Linked DNA regions of Homo sapiens: region 1 is linked to region 2. Evidence: promoter capture Hi-C in 16 types of primary human blood cells and fetal thymus (Javierre and others, 2016). All regions are on one chromosome and are shown on one strand. The core of a region is centred on a gene start or on the middle of the fragment in contact, and the rest is flanking DNA. Distances in the headings are between cores, read along the strand shown.

Evidence for each region. Contacts are between HindIII fragments. The CHiCAGO score rates a contact against its expected background, and 5 or more counts as called.
Region 1: a contact is called between a fragment that was not itself captured here and the fragment with the promoter of TNFSF10 in region 2, in 1 of 17 cell types (total B cells). The highest score is 5.2, in total B cells.

What each region holds. Positions count from the first base shown.
Region 1 is chr3:172,059,944-172,063,113 of GRCh38, reverse strand. The region is part of intron 1 of FNDC3B (fibronectin type III domain containing 3B); the gene reads right to left. Among named protein-coding and RNA genes, the nearest start is that of FNDC3B, 22 kb to the right of the region's middle. The HindIII fragment of the contact is 4,567 bases long and covers 1-3,170 here.
Region 2 is chr3:172,522,082-172,525,358 of GRCh38, reverse strand. It overlaps TNFSF10 (TNF superfamily member 10), which reads left to right and starts at 1,929. Exons shown (of 5, transcript NM_003810.4): 1 at 1,929-2,106. The coding sequence starts at 1,975. It also overlaps the pseudogene TBPL1P1. RefSeq lists an enhancer at 1,948-1,997. The HindIII fragment of the contact is 8,260 bases long and covers 1-2,424 here.

The sequences.
Region 1 (3,170 bases), core at 161-2,660, 460 kb after region 2:
AACGAAAAAATGTATTTAACAAGGAAGATAGGGAGAAAAGATACGTGTAAAGAAAGGACAGCAATGGATCATTCAAAAGAGAAATCTTAAAATCTATGAGAGCAAGATATGGTTTTGTAGCATTAGATCATACACCAATTTCACTTCCTTCAAAGGCATCACCAAAAAAAGTAATGCTTTAAAGAGAGACACTATTTTTTTTTCTGACTCTGCCTACATTCACTTAATTCTTCATTCTCCTCTCATTTTGACCTAAGTTATTCACTTAAGATTAACTTTTTCTCAGTGATATACGGGCTTCAGGAAATAACTAATAGAAGTCAAAATGAGAAGAGGATGGATGGATGGGTGGATGGATGGATAGATGGATGGAGAATGACTTAACAGTTTGGCAGAGTCAAAAAAAAAAGTACTTAGAAATACCATATATAATATCAGCTCTGCTCAAATTGCAAAATGCCAATCATAATACTTATACAATAATCAAACAATGATAAAGAGAAAATCCCACTTTCAAGAAGGAGAAAAGTGGCCAGGCGCGGTGGCTCACGCCTGTAATCGCAGCACTTTGGGAGGTCAAGACAGGTAGCTTGGCTAACACAGTGAAACCCCATCTCTACTAAAAATCCAAAAAATTAGCCAGGCGTGGTAGCACACATCTGTCATCCCAGCTACTCGGGAGGCTGAGGCAGGAGAATCACTTGAACCTGCGAGGCGGAGGTTGCAATGAGCTGAGATCATGCCCCTGCACTCCAGCCTGGGTGACGGAGAGAGACTCCATCTCAAAAAAAAAAAAAAGAAGGAGGAGAAAAGTAGCAGAAATTGGGGTACTAGGGACCAATAACAGACAGGGGCAGGAAGAAAGGAGGCAAATTCCCAACCCTAGAAAAGGAAAAGAATAAATTTGTATATAGCCTGCAAGGGGGCTGAGGGGTAAGGAGAGAAGGAATGGGGACTGAGCACTTCATGGTCATGCTGGCACTGATCAGCTTCCGGACATGTCCTTTATTGCATGTATAAAAAAACTATTAAGGAAGAAGTGAAACTGCACAAACTTAACCTCAGCACCAGCATGATTACCTCACGTAACTTCTTTTCTTAGTATCCCTAAACAGAAAGTCATTCAGATAAATAAGTTTATGGTTTTTGATAAGTGTCCCCTAGTAACCTGGTTTATGCATCATGCATTAGTTTGTGGAACTGAAAGGTTAATGCTGGAAAAAAAGATCAGAGATCTCTTTGGTTCTTTGCCCCGACTTAGTTAAGATTGTGTAACTTGTGCAAATATAACCATTTCCTGTCCGCTGAACAAAGCAATTAGTGGACTGGGTACAGTTTCTGAGACAATTTAAGGGAAGAAATCAATCTGGCCATGTCTCACTGTAGTTCATTTTAAAGAAAGAAACAAAAGAGACAGGAAAATATAGAATATCACTATTTTGTTGAATAGAAGTCATTCTTGCTTTATATAACCTTCTTCCCCCACAGATTGTACATGACACATTAGGAAAAGAATCTGCTTCAAAACGGCTTGCAAAGAATATATCTAACACCCATAACTTCAATTTACTATTAAAAAGTAGGCTGGGTGTGGTGGCTCATGCCTGTAATCCCAGCACTTTGGGAGGCCGAGGCGGGAGGATCACGAGGTCAGGAGATCGAGACCATCCTGGCTAACACGGTGAAACCCTGTCTCTACTAAACATAAAAAAAAATAGCCGGGCTTGGTGGCGGGCACCTGTAATCCCAGCTACTCGGGAGGCTGAGGCAGGAGAATGGTGCGAACCCGGGAGGCGGAGCTTGCAGTGAACCGAGATCACGCCACTGCACTCTAGCCTGGGTGACAGAGCGAGACTCCATCTCAAAAAAAAAAAAAAAAAGTAATGTGCAGACCAGGCCGTTTTAAAAGAAAAAATTGGTATCACTTCATGAGTTTAGAATAAGCATCCATTATTCATATAGGATGGGCTCTGCAAAAAGAAATATCAGGGAAGGAAGAGCAAAGAAAAGATGAAATGCAACCTGTGCTTCCAGTGACTTCCCAGGGCTGGTTCCAGGAGCTCAGGAGGTATAGAAACACTGCCTTCATTTTCCTCAAACCTTTATTGCTTAAACTAGCTTAAGTGGGTTTCTGTTATCTGCAATGCAATAATTATTGACTGAACAAGAAAAACCTTTCTATCTTCACATAATTTGAAGTATCTCAGTTATTCCTCTTGATTGAAAGTTCCATATGCCTCCAATAGTAAGAATTATAATTAGAACATGTCTTTAAAATTAAAATCAAACATAAGTTTTCACCTGGTTCAAACACATGGCATCTCAGTGTCAAAACAACATGTCCTGCTCCATCATTAAATCATTCATTCAATAAACACTTGCTGAGCAGTCTGTTTGCCAGTCTCTGTATATAAGAGAAGAGGAAAGTGTCGGTCTCTGCCTTCAAGGAATTTAGATTTTAGTGGGAAAGTCAAACAGAGGAATTAGACATCTCCCTGCTTCTTCTCTTGCCGCATCTTTACAGCTACACTCAAATAAATACTACTACTGATTGAACTGATGGCTCCCTAAACTTCAGGTACCAGTTCATGCAATCTATCTGTTCCTACAATCTTCTAGGTCTTCTAAAGGGCAAATGAGAAGTGTGGAGGGGGCCTTTAGGGTTTTCTCTCACCATGGTAAGTAATCAGTCTCATGGCCTAGGGAAGACAGAGAAAAGCCTGGTGTGGGGCCAACTCATAAATGTGTCTTACCCTCTGCCCACCACCACCACTACACTCTCACCTGAGGGAACACACCACTACCACCCCCCACCCTAGCAACAGGACTGACTGACATCTAAAAGAATCTAGACTTTTAAATTAAATCTACCATCTTTCATTACTTATATTTATTCAAAAGTTCACTACAAAACTGAGTCACGAGAATCCTAAAAGATAGTATTTGAGAATTGTCAATGGGCCCCACTGACTATGAGGGTTCTCTCTTCGGGAGGGAAACAAATTCTCCAAAAAAACAGATATTTAACAAGCACCAGTCAATTGAGTCCGAAGACCTCTCACAGCTAATAGGAAGTGACTACCTGGCTAAATCTTCACATTCTTGCAAATCCAAATATGTATTCCCTAAAGCTGAAGGCTGGAAGATTTAGATCTAAAGATGCCTAATTG
Region 2 (3,277 bases), core at 680-3,179:
CATTCCTTCGTTTCATGCCTTTCACGTACATCATAGCCGTAATGTTTCTATTTCTGGATTATAACAAAGGTGTTAAGTTGGTTTTCTTTGGTCTTCTCCCCTGTGTTTCTCTGCCATCTCTCGTTTCTTGTTTCTGCCCTGCCCGGCTGTGTGTCTTGTGCATTACGGTTATCCTACTCATCTTTCACCTGATTTAAAAAACTCATTCAGTCTAGGACTTAGAGTGTAAGTGTGTTCAAATAGTGTTAGGTTCACATAATGTCTAAAACTTTTAGTAGGAAAAATGCTACCTTGCCAATTTGTCTGTGTCTGAAAGGAATTTGCATTTAAAAATTTGGCAATTTGACAGAGGCAAATTTAAAATTTGAAAATATTTTCTTAAATATAGACTCATTTACAGATAGAAGGCAAGGGCAGGAAGTGATGGTGACCAGCGGTGCCTGAATGAACTCAGGAATGTAACTGTAGATCTAGGGTCCCAAACTTTAGGTTTCAAAGGATCTCTTGGAGTACTTGCTGAAAAATGTAGGTTCCTAAGTCCACTGCCAGAAACTCTGACTCAGTGGGTCAAGAATGGAATAACTAAACAATGGCCCCATGCAGTGGTTCATGCCTGTAATCCCAGCACGTTGGGAGGTTGAAGCAAGAGGATCACTTGAGGTCAGGAGTTCGAGACCAGCCTGGCCTACATGGTAAAACCCCATCTCTACTAAAAATACAAAAAAATTAGCTGGGCATGGTGGCATGCACCTGTAATCCCAGCTACTTGGGAGGCTGAGGCAGGAGAATTGCTTGAATCTGGGAGGTGGAGGTTGTAGTGGGCCGAGATTGTGCCATTGCACCACTGCACTCCAGCCTGGGCGATAAAGTGAGATTCTGTCAAAAAAATAAATAAATACATGAAAGAGAGAAAGAAAGAAAGAAAGAAAGAAAGAAAGAAAGAAAGAAAGAAAGAAAGAAAGAAGGAAAGAAGGAAAGAATAGAAAAGAAAAGAAAGAAAGAAAGAAAGGAAGAAAAGGAAAGAAAGAAATGCTGAATAAGATATAGAGACAACATACAGCTGGGCCAGCTTATGACATCTGATAGTGGGGAGATTTGGGGCTGGGTCCTGAATCTGAGGGTAATTAACTCCCTGTAACTTCTTTTCCTAATCTGTAAAAGGATAGTGACAGCGAGACATTGTGATGGGGTTAATATTTTGGAAAACATCCACATGTTTTTTTCCTTTGCCTTTCTGAGTGTGTCAACTACTTCCTACCTGTCCAGCCTAACACACAGGCATGTTGTCTTGGTAGGGATGGAGATCTGAGAAGGAGATTAGAATTTGTGTCTGAAGGTTTGCAAAGAGGAAGAAGTCGTCAATATTTAGATTCTGACATTCAAGATGGAATTATGTAGCAAGACCATTGCTATGAGACAGTATTTCTATTTTCCTTTATCCACTCCCACCCTGCCCTCTTCCCACCCTCACAGTAGCATGAGAAAAACCACATATGGAAGTTTCAGGTCATAAAAATTATCTTATAATTTAGAAAACAGGCCTTGTGCCTATGACAGCCAGGCCATGAGGCTTAGAGCTCTGTGGTAGAATGAGGATATGTTAGGGAAAAGCAAAGAAAATCCCTCCCCTCTTTGGCTGAGGACATTATCAAAAGGAGAGCAAGAAAGAGAAGAGAGAAATGGGCTTGAGGTGAGTGCAGATAAGGGGTGCATGGATCCTGAGGGCAAGGAGAGGAGCTTCTTTCAGTTTCCCTCCTTTCCAACGACTACTTTGAGACAAGAGCTGTCCCTGGGCAGTAGGAAAGGGGAGGGACAGTTGCAGGTTCAATAGATGTGGGTGGGGCCAAGGCCACAGAACCCAGAAAAACAACTCATTCGCTTTCATTTCCTCACTGACTATAAAAGAATAGAGAAGGAAGGGCTTCAGTGACCGGCTGCCTGGCTGACTTACAGCAGTCAGACTCTGACAGGATCATGGCTATGATGGAGGTCCAGGGGGGACCCAGCCTGGGACAGACCTGCGTGCTGATCGTGATCTTCACAGTGCTCCTGCAGTCTCTCTGTGTGGCTGTAACTTACGTGTACTTTACCAACGAGCTGAAGCAGGTCAGTGCAGTGCAGTGCACTCAGTCTTCGAGGCGCTTAGCAAATGTCTGGTTACCTGCTTCTTTGCATGTCAGCTTGCCCCTCTCTGAAGACTTTCCTGCTTCCTTTCTCTGTGGGTACACTCTAACTGCTAAATCACATAACAACTGAGGTCTTTGCAAAACTGTAAGTTCAAGAAATTGTGTAAACTAAGTGCAGTTACACAACTGGCTTCACTAGTTACTAGCAGATGTGGGCAACAAAACTCCTGAGGGATTTTTTGTTTTTAAAAGTATGTGTATTTTATAATATCAGCCATTGCAACTCTTCATGAAAGCTTTCTGCTAAATGCTTTGTAGTTCTTTTGTTTTCCTTTTCCAAACTTTTATTTGTGCACATTCAATTGAAAAAGATAATTTTTACAGGTTCTTTGGTGCCCATTTTCAGCATACAAAAATGTAAAAGACTATTCACAGATAAAACACATTAGCTCAAAATGGAAAAAAATAACAATGACAACAATAAAACAACCTAAGGTAGTGCACACTGTGACAGCTCTGCTTATGGGGACATGAGAATTCCTGCGAAAATAAATAGAATGTCCTTTTGTAAAAGCAGCAATGACATGTCTTGTAAACTTCCTTTTTTATATTATAACAAGGTTTGGAATAAAATCCAAAGGGACTGGAGCTTACACTGTAGCCATGAATAAATAAAAGAGTCTATTTCCTCAATTACCGTTGGTTCAGTTTTCCTTTTGAGTCCAATGTGCAGCAGGTTTTAAAAGGTGCACAGTAAGAGATTCTAACCAATTAAGTGGTGAATGATAAAATTTCTTTCCTGCTTTCAAACACAAATGGGTAAATCTGTTCCACAGCAGTAGCAACAGCCTTTAAATAGGGCCTTGTTACTGTGATACTTCCTGTCGAAAAAATCTGTAATGTAGCTCTTAGAGTCTTTATCCAATAGCACACAGCAGGATGAAGTTCAGATTCATAACTCACATGAGGTCTATTGCTCTTTGTGAATTCTGGCAAACAGATTTCTTTATTTTTAAATTTTTTTATTTTACTTTAAGTTCTGGGATACGTGTACAGAACGTGCAGGTTTGTTACATAGGTATACATGTGCCATGGTGGTTTGCTGCACCCATCAACCCATCATCTAGGTTGTAAGCCCCACAGGCATTAGG